2 separate regions of the Homo sapiens genome follow, and region 2 is linked to region 1. The links are contacts of gene promoters, found by promoter capture Hi-C in human tissues and cell types (Jung and others, 2019). All regions are on one chromosome and are shown on one strand. The core of a region is centred on a gene start or on the middle of the fragment in contact, and the rest is flanking DNA. Distances in the headings are between cores, read along the strand shown. Region 1 holds the start of ATL2 (atlastin GTPase 2). Region 2 overlaps CEBPZ (CCAAT enhancer binding protein zeta).

Region 1 (5,082 bases), core at 493-2,992:
ACAACGTTCACAACCATAACTGAAGTATAAATTTATGTTTCTTCTAATAAGGTAAATACATAGAATATTTTGAAACTGCATCTAAAACTCTTACCTCAAAAAAAGGAAAGAAAGAAAGAGAAAGAAAGAAAAGAACACACACTTCTTCCCCTAGGGTCCAACCAAAAGAGCGAAATTAATCCATCCGCATTCCAAAACAATTAATTACTTAAGAAATCCAACCAGCACACATCTAAGGCGAAGCTGCTTCTTTGGTAGTTTTTTATTCTACAGAGTGCTACCACTGTACAAACAGTCAAGCGTTTTGGTTGGCAGACAATAATAAAATAAGCTTTATTTCCTTTTCTTCTTCCCTTAGCAAAACTCCAGTCTGTCATCACCTCTGACATGCGCCAAGAACTACCAGGAATGATGAAGTATATTTCAAATAAACTTTCCTATTAAAGTGAGTCCTTGTGGTTAACATCATACCAAAATGCTTTACATTTTATCCAGCAAAACCTTTACACACCGTAAAAAAAGAAATCTTAAGACACGAGCTCGTATCTGTATTTAATAATAAACTCTTATCTTGGCCGTACTTACCAAATCGTAGGCTTTTACTATTTATAAGCCTTTGAAAAAACTTTATGCCTTTCTTAAGTACCATCAAAATTTTCAATCAGGATTTCATGCGATCAATTCGCACCACAGTGAGAGATCAAACGCTAAACTCCTATAAATAGGGGTGTTATGAGTGAGAGGGATACACTGCGCTGCCAACGCAACTGCGTCTTCGAGGGGGCAGGGGCGCTCCTGGTACACGTACAGTAGGAGCTCACATTCAGCAAAACCAGGGAGCCAAGGATCAGGTGACTTCACACTACAGACACTTTCAGAGTGATCAGGCCTTACTATCGTCCAAGTGACTCGTAAACGGCTCATAACCCCAGTTTGACACGAAAATCTAGACTTGCACCCTAGCCACGCACAACCCGCGCGAATGGGTTCGGGAGCCGAGGAGCCCCGAAACGCGAGCCCGGGGACAGAGCCCTGGCCTGCGGACTGCGGTTCCCTCCAGGAAGGGTGTCTAAGGAGCTTTCGGACCCGGCAGCAAGGTGTCTGCTCCCCGCGCGACCTCCTCCTCCGCGGGGCCCATCATGCCCTGGCCACCCCTTCCTCCCTGTCCGCGTAAGGGACAGCGAACGCCCACCAGCTAACGGGTCGCCCCGCCGCGTCCGGAGCTCGCCGGACGGAGCGGAGCCGCAGCCGACCTCCCCGCGCCCCGGGCAGGCGGCCACGGCTCAAGGCCGCCCCCTAAGGTCGGGGCGGACACGGCGGCAGCCACGCGGCGGGCTGGCGGGCAGGGGGCCGGGCCGGTCGCAGACGCGCGCGCCACTGGTTCTCCCAGCAGCTACTGGAGCCGCGGCCCACGAGCCGCCCTTTCAGGCCGCGCGCTGCGGGAGCGCGGGGCGCGGCTGAGGCTAGGCCCGGCGGGCAGGCGCGGCGGCGGGAGGAGACCTGAACCAGCCGCGGACTCCGACCCCGCCGCCTGCGGCCGGTGCCCGCGAGCCCGAGCAGCGAGCGTCTCTCCCCATCAGGGCCCCGCGGCCTCTGCCTCGCTGGCCCGTACCTAGGGAGGTCGTGGACGAGACGTGGTTAACCGCGGCGCTTGGGTCGCTGGTCCGTCGCCGGCGCCACAGCCCCTGGTGCGGTTGCTGCCCTCGCGCTGCCTCGTCCCCCTCCGCCATCTTGTACCGATTTAAAATTAACTCCCCACTGACGTCAAACGCCGCCGCCGCTTTATCAACCTCCCGGGAGCCGGCGGGGTGGCCGGCGGGTCCTAGCGCCGCTCTCCGCCTGTATCTCCTCGCCCTCCGCCTGTATCTCCTCGCCCTCCGCCTGTATCTCCTCGCCCTCCCTCCGCCCCCGCCCCGCCCATCGCTCGCTCGCTCCGCCCTCGCCCTGCCCGCCTGCAGATCCGTCTCCCCGGCTCCAAGTTTCTGGTTGGACTGGGGCGGGGGTGTCCCTGCCGCCGCCGTCTCACACCCCCACCTCCCTGAGCTCAGCACCACACCCCCTTAGCGCTGGGCCAGGCTCTGCAAACGCAGAAGGGAGCTCCAGAGAACTAAGTCCCTCCCTCCCAATTCGCTTTACATCTCTAATCGTTGATTCGTGCGTCCTGCACGTGAGGTGGCTTTCGCACCCCTTCTCTCCTTTTCATCGCCCCCTCCTCATCACAGCCATTCCCCTCCTCTCTCCCCATCCACCCCCCAAGTTGTTGCCAGTGCCCTGCTTTTCCTCTTGATCTTTTCTTTCCTCACCCAAGTCCCTACTGTTGCTTCCCCTCCCCCCCACCATCCTAAGGTTTGTTTGCATTCGCTCCCCATCTACTTATGAGACCTTCCCCCATCTTCTCAACTGTGTATACCCTGGCCCTGTGCTCCTAGCACCTTGCAGAGGCATGCCAGAAAGCACTCTAATCGGAAAATGAATCGTGGCAGGTTCTTACCTAATTGTGATGAACCTTCTTCTGGGGATCCAGTGACATCCAGTAGAAAGTTCAGGTCACTTTTTAAATTACAAGTCAGCCCGTGGAGGCGTCTGTGAAACATGATCCCTTTGGATTTTTACCATACTGCCAGCTGCATTAGAAATTCCTCTTCTCCAGTAAAAACAGATGTCCGGGTGTACAAACAGCTGTTTTGTCCAGGTCTTTTCATAAGTCTAAAATTCACAGCATGCACAATCTCTAGAAAAGCACTGGTGTTATTAAAGCTTTCAAAATACCATTCTAGGTAGGGCATGGTGGCTCACGCCTCCCGGGTTCAAGCAATTCTCTGCCTCAGCCTCCGGAGTAGCTGGGATTACAGTCCCCCGCCACCACACCCTGCTAATTTTTGTATTTTTATAGACACGGGATTTCACCATCTTGGCCAGGCTGGTCTTGAGCTACTGACCTCGTGATCCACCCGCCTCAGCCTCCCAAAGTGCTGGGATTACAGGCGTGAGCCACTGCGCCCGGCCCATCCAAATATATTTCAACAGAATATGGAGTTTGTCATCATTGTCACATAAATCTAGGAGAATAACTATATACGTGTTCTTGGCAATATTCTTTGAGTTACTAAGATTCTAGTTCTGGGACTTGAACCACCTCCACAATCTAAAGTACAGTTACCCTTCCCCCTCGTTCATATTGATGGCAGGATCTTTATCAACTTGTTAAGTGATATTCCTCTTACGTCCTTGTGATATATGATTTGGAGAGCTCACTTTGTCAAGACATTTTCTGTTTTATCATTGGCCTGAAAAACGTAGTATTGAAAAGGAAGAAAAAGAAGAAGCAGAAGCAGAAGAAGGAGGAGGAGGAGGAGAAGAAGGGCAAAAAAATCTTCACGAGGATTGTTCTACAAAGATTTATTTACTGTCATTTACTCACTAAAAAACATTTGCTTAGGCACATAGAAAAAAGAAACCATTTACAAACAGCACAGCATAGGCCATTTGCTAAATTAAGGTTGATACAGTCAGTGACAACAAAAAGCTACCTGAATCCTTACCAAAGTGCAGTGTTCACCTAAGCCAAATCACCCTCTATGCTTAGTATAGGCAGTCCTTTGGAAGATATTGAATATCTTACATGTAATAAAAGACCTTATGGTTTCCCTCACTGTGCCTTCGATTTTAAGGACTTCAATTCTATCTACTAATCTAGGCTGCTACCCCATGTGTTTCGTGTTTTGCTTTGCTTTTCTCTTTTCTTTTCTTTTTTTTTTCCTTGCCTATGTTCTTCTCTTTTTGGTGTTCTGCCTATCTTGGCTCCCAAACCCACTCTCTCCCCCATCTGTGGTTACTATGCCTGAATCAAGAGAGGTCAAACGCTTATTTAAAAAAAAAAAAAAAAGGCTGGGTGTGGTGGCTCATGCCTGTAATCCCAGCACTTTGGGAGGCCGAGGTGGGGCGATCACCTGAGGTCAGCAGTTCAAGACTAGCCTGGCCAACATGGTGAAACCCCATCTCCACAAAAATACCAAAATTAACTTGGCATGATGGCGGGTGCCTGTAATCCCAGCTACTCGGGAGGCTGAGGTGGGAGAATCACTTGAACCTGGGAGGTGGAGGTTGCCGTGAGCTGAGATCGTGCCATTGCACTCCAGCCTGGATGACAGCGTGAGACTCCATCTCAAAAAAAAAAAAAAATAGGCTGACCCTGGGTACACTGCCTGTGAGTTAGCCCTACTCCGCAAGGAGCAATACCATTCAAAAAAGACTGCTGCTTAACACCACCAGCTCAAAAAAAAAAAGAATTAATTAATTAATTTTTTGCTGTCCGGAAAAAAGTCAGTGATTCCTAAGGAAAATTTTTCCTTGCCACCTCTCAGGGAGACATTCCGTCTTATAACTCTTCTATGGGAAAGCACGGGGTACTGAGAATATGAGAACTGACAAGAACTTGCCCTACAATCATTTTAACCTTCATGGAGATGGTGTAAGATAGAAGGAATGGGCCAGGCGCGGTGGCTCATGCCTATAGTCCCAGCACTTTGGGAGGCCAAGGTGGGTGGATCCCTTGAGCTAAGGAGTTTGACACCAACCTGGGCAACATAATGAGAGCCTGTCTCTACAAAAAATACGAAAATTAGCCAGGCACGCACCTGTAGTCCCAGCTATGGAGGAGGCCAAAGTGGGAGGATTGCTTGAGCCCATGAGGTCGAGGCTGCAGTGAGCCAAGATCACACCACTGCACTCCAGCCTGGGTGGCAAAAAAAGAAAAAAGATAAAAGGAAAGTTCCTCCCTGTGAGAGGTAGAGATTTAGATATCCATTAGTGGAAACCACTCACTTGCCTGGGGTGATATCAGATGGACGGGGCAAGGTTAGAGTAGAGAGAAGCCAAAGACAAATATAAAGCAGTGTTGTCAATAGAAAAGGTGTTGGATATTGCTGAGGCTGAAATGAGATAAACTACACTCTCCGAGAATGAAAAAGGCTGTCTTTGTTGTGGGCAAACTGCATCTCTGCAGACCTTGTTATCTTTTCAGTGATGCGTTTCCTGAAAGTTTTGTTTAAGCTACACCATGCTTGCAAACTGTTGCTCCTT
Region 2 (5,146 bases), core at 1,833-4,332, 1.2 Mb before region 1:
ACAATAAAAACCCTTCAGCTCCAAACGAGAAGGGAAAAGGTCCTTTTAAGTTTCTGGCTGACATGAGTATTAATTTGAATACAGGGCTATATTAAAAACCTTTAGCAGAAAAACAAACTTAAGGCTAAGGAAGTGAGGAAGACACAGTTTATGTCTTATTTTAAAAAATGCTTACCTGGAACGCTCTCACTTTCATCATCTAACACATCCATGAATGTTCCTCCATCTTCATCAACTTCAGCAAATTCTTCATCATCCATACTTCCTAAAGAAACTTCATCGTCATCCAGGTTACCAAGTTCATCATCACTACCTTCTGAATCTTCATCTAATGTGTTATCCTTAGCTCCTTTTGTTCTCTTTTTCACGTTTCTGGAAAAAAACACAACTTGTAATACAAGAGGAGGCAGTATTTTCTAAAGTAGTGTTTTGCTGACTACTAGGGCAGTAGGCTATTAAATGACTCAGAAGGAGAAAGCTTTGCAGACTGCTCAGAGTAAATAATAACGTGCTTTATAAATGTCAAAGATGAAAGTACTGTATCCACTTCCCAAACTTACTTGACTACATTTCCCCTTTATCATATAGTTCTGTGGTCTACTGTTCTGAGGGACAACAATTTGGGAAATGCTAGAAAAATAGGAAGGAGAAGATAGAAGTATGTTACCCAGCAAAATCCATATCATCCTTTCCAGAGCTGAAACAGTTATCATCTTCAAATGTGTCTGCCAGACAATACAGAAATGTGAGATACAACAAAGAATGACAAGCTTGACATATATCTTGTATCTGAATCAATTATTCTAAGTCATGATTCTGCTGTTTATGACAAGTGAACACCAAAACAATGTAAATGTTACTGTTGCTAGTGTGCCTTAATAATGTATACAAACCTGTGAAATACTGATCTTAGTTAAATCCCAAAACTAAAGAAGGATCCAGTTAATTTCGGCTCTTTCTACAGTTCTTTTATGGAAAGAGGATAAATATCAAATAAAATGATATTTAGCAATTGTCGTCCTTTTTACTCTATTAGAACTACTTAAGTGCTCATTTTTAATAGGTGTGATACAATATGTAACATCTCATGCTTGTAATTCCAGCACTTTGGGAGGCCGAGGTGGAGTGATCATCAGCCTGGGCAACACGGCAAGACCCTATCTCTATTAAAAAAAAAAAAAAAACAAAAACAACAACAACAAAAAAAAAAACAAAAAAAAAACGAGCCGGACATCATGGCATGTACCTGTAGTCCCAGCTACCCGTGGGGCTGAGGCAGGAAAATCGCCTGAGCCCAGAAGGTCTAGGCTGCAGGGCTGCAGTGAGTTGGGATTGTGCCACTGCACTCCAGCCTGGGAGACAGAGAGAGCCTGTCTCAAAACAAACAAACAAACCCCCCAAAAAACAACAACAAAAAAATATGTAACGTGAAATCAGTGTAAGTCTTTCCAATTTACCATGTTTTTTGTTTAAGTCTATTAAGTTTCAATCAAAATTTCTGTAGCTCTGTGGATTAAAGATAAAAAAGATCAAACAGTAGACTATTGCTATCAATTAGTACTGATATACTATAATAGATTATGAATAGTAAAAAGGATTTCTTTTTCACATGAGATTTGGCTGTAACAATTGAATAGACTTAAGCAAATATAAATGTTTTCTTATATAGACTATCCAAAGCACAAATCATGTATTTTTCTGGTGCAAATGTGGGTGAATTACCATATATCATAAAAATATTTGTTTCTTTTGTTTTTTTTTTGAGACAGGATTTCACTCTGTCACCCAGGCTAGAGTGCAGTGCCGTAATCTTGGCTCACGGCAACCTCTGACTCCTGGATTCAAGCGATTCTCGTGCCTCTGCTTCTCGAGTAGCTGGGACTACAGGTGCGTGCCACCATGCCCAGCTCATTTTTTGGGGTTTTTAGTAGAGACAGGGTTTCACCATATTGGCCAGGCTGGTCTCGAACTCCTGACCTCAAACAATCTTCCTGCCTCGGCCTGCCAAAGTGCTGGGATTACAGGTGTGAGCCACAGCGCCTGGCCCCAAATATTTCTTAATCTTCCACTGTGATTTGCATGATATTCTTAGCTAAGTGATTTTTTAAAACTAAGGCCACTTCTCCCACTAATGTTCCATGGTCTATTAACACATAGTAGTAGATTATTTTACAAAGAGTCAACAAAACAAATTACCAATCAGCTCTTCAAATTCTTCATCATCCACGTCTTCTATACTTTCTTCATCTGCATCCCGTTTTTGTTTCTCTTTAACAGCAACTTTTTTATAATACCTATAATATTCATGTTATATATTTGACAATTTTATTAAAGGTCTAATCTTACTATATATCATCAAAGCACCTATGACCAGTGGCAAACCACAACTGTAAAATCTTAAGTATACTCAATTGGAAATAAATGACTGAAATTTGTATCTAATATACAAAAAATAGTTTAACTCAATAAAAAGTAGCTGGAATCTTTTAAGTGTAATACATTTCAAAGATAATATTTTATCAGCCCTATTCTTATATTAGAATACAGCAAAACTTAGCCATTTACAGATGTAATCAAACCCTCAAAATTATTCATTCTAAATGATTTTAAAAAACAAGCCAAATCAAACCTAATTAACCAGTCAACCAGATGAGATAAGAGGTACTTTACTACCCTAAGGCATTAGGTTATGATACTAGTTGGTTTAGGACTTATTTCTATAACAGTGCACTGAATCCATTCTAAGGGCCATGGTCTGGATAAATTACCCATGAGTTATCACTATATTAAACTTAAAGTATTATATTAAAATCTATATTAAAGGTAGATTTTAAGCCTATAAAGAAAATTATTATAAAAGGAAATTAAAGGCTAAATTCCAAAAAGAAGCATAAAACAAAATTTATATGCTAAATTAACAAAACTCCCAAATTTACTTTAGTTTTACTAAGATATATTAAGATTAGCAAAATGACGGATTTGTAAATTTTCTTAACAAACACAGACATATCCTTTGATCTTTTCAAAATATGCTGATTAGATTTCATAAAATGAAGCATTTAAAACTAAGGCCACTTCTCCCACTAATGTTCCATGGTCTATTTACACACAGTAGTAGATTATTGAAGTAGATTATTTCATAAAATGAAGCATTTTATGAAATCTAAAAATTTAAATTTTAGCAGTTTCCCCAAATGAAACTATATTATGTATAGTACCTGTGGAAAAACACTTCATCCACTGGTATTTGGCTTTCTTCTTTTGCAAGGAACTCCTTACTGTTCACTACAAAAATAAATTTAAACATTTTAACTTCATATAGCAATCCCCTTTATGTTACTCAAGCTCTTAAGACAAAATACAGCATAATCTGTAATTCTAAAAATCTCAGAATTGTGTGGGAAGGTAGACAGAAGGGACTCTGGAGTGCAAGGGACAATCTCTGAAAAAGTCTGTGTGAAGACCCCCCCAACATTTGAAACTTCACTGGCTACAGCATAAAGTAGGCAGTACATAGCTGTCAGTGCCGTTACAGTGAAACAACAGGGTTCTCTTACTGTTCTTCATTTGCATCCAGGACCCAACTTTCAAGAGAAATAAAAAATTCAAAGAGTTATTTTAATAAATAATCACTTTAAACTTGTCATTTTCAGCTCAAAAAATGACAAGCTTGCCATTAATGCGTGCCATTCTGGGAATAAACAGGAAGTTAACAGAGTTTTCCTTTATACTGAGGAAAACTAAGAAATAAGGAACTACAAGAAATCAGTTTTACCTCTTCAGAATAAAAATTGCTGACTCATCCTGAGTAAAAGGAGATTTGGCTTTTAATTCTAACTTACTAACTGTGGGTAAGTCCTTTTACATCTCTGGACCTCTGTGAAGTAAGTCACTGGAAATTAAATGATCTATAAGGTCTAATTTAATCCTGGTCTCTGAACAAAAGGGAGATGAGATCTGGTATGCAAAGAAATGTCTGCTTTGAATACAACAACAGACTCAGATCCAGAAGATGGCTAGCAAATATAGAAGTAGGTTATTAAGTTTAAAATGATGCTCTGTGACAAAACCAGCTGTGGGTTTTTGTGCTGCTAAGCTGATATTAGAGAGCTTTAAGATGGTCTGAATTGTAAGCAATAATAATTATATACATAGGGGTTGTGGATGAAGCTACGGATGATAAAATGGTGACAACTGTCAAAGCTGGGTGATGGTAATGGGGAGGGGGTTCATCATACTATTTTGTTTATTTTGGATATGTTTCAAATTTGCTGTAATAAAGTTAAAAAAAAAAAAAAAAAGGCCCAGTCAGATACAGTAGATTTAAGAATACCTATTCTTGGGAAAAAAGATGGATAATGTCTTTGATGCTCAGGTTTTATTCTGATAAATTAGAACAAAGAATAATACAATTTATGCATCTTTGTCTTATATTGTCTTTTCAGTTTCAACTGTCTAAGGTTTATACTTACCAGGAAGATGACGAATATCCTTAATAAAATGTTTTCTTTTCGGCTGCATCACAACACTATCTGTGTTTTCTGAAATGTAAAATTATGACAGTATAATGCAAAACCTAGTTATAAGCTCATATTGTTTATTATGTATTAAAAATGAAAGCCAAATAATTCACTAAATAGAAGCATACCTTTGCCTTTATGGGGCTTTGGATTTCGGTATACAAATCGATCCAAAAATCTCATTAGAGTGAAATCCTGCAGTGGGTCCCCTGAATACTGAATATAGTTTCCCTGAAAAGTGGAGCGGGGATTTAAAAACTTAATTCAAATTATGTCTATGAATCCAAGTAAGAAAAAGGAAGAAAAAGATAATTTCTATTACACTGTATTGAAGATACAAATATGCAATAAATGACTCTTCAAATATCTCTCTCATGCACATTATACTTAAAAAATTAAACACACAGATACATATACATACATATTCTAGGATGTAATGTTGATTTGATGGATAGACTAATATTAATAATGCAGGCCATCTAACCATTAATCAGGAACCAAACCCTGAAGTGGCAAACACAGCAAATGGGAAAGTGAGGCAGTATTTCTCCAGGAGAGGAGCTAGAAGGTAATAAATAAATAACTGCGTGGCTTTCAATGTCTTATTGCTTCCACTCATCTCAGAG

Evidence for each region. Contacts are between HindIII fragments. The study calls those that stand out against the background at their distance.
Region 2: a fragment that was not itself captured here is called in contact with the fragment with the promoter of ATL2 in region 1 in 1 of the 25 tissues and cell types used here (aorta).

Annotation. Positions count from the first base shown.
Region 1 is chr2:38,375,531-38,380,612 of GRCh38, forward strand. ATL2 (atlastin GTPase 2) reads right to left here and starts at 1,743. Exons shown (of 13, transcript NM_001135673.4): 1 at 1,613-1,743. The coding sequence starts at 1,730. RefSeq lists enhancers at 835-1,336, 1,337-1,836, 1,663-1,912 and silencers at 1,163-1,662, 1,883-2,042, 2,113-2,162. The HindIII fragment of the contact is 9,835 bases long and covers 1-5,082 here.
Region 2 is chr2:37,211,668-37,216,813 of GRCh38, forward strand. CEBPZ (CCAAT enhancer binding protein zeta) reads right to left here. Exons shown (of 16, transcript NM_005760.3): 7 at 4,649-4,751; 8 at 4,473-4,541; 9 at 3,219-3,285; 10 at 2,197-2,294; 11 at 668-725; 12 at 176-372. It also overlaps a transcript of CEBPZOS not described here. Among named protein-coding and RNA genes, the nearest start is that of CEBPZ, 17 kb to the right of the region's middle. RefSeq lists an enhancer at 3,053-4,252. The HindIII fragment of the contact is 4,916 bases long and covers 625-5,146 here.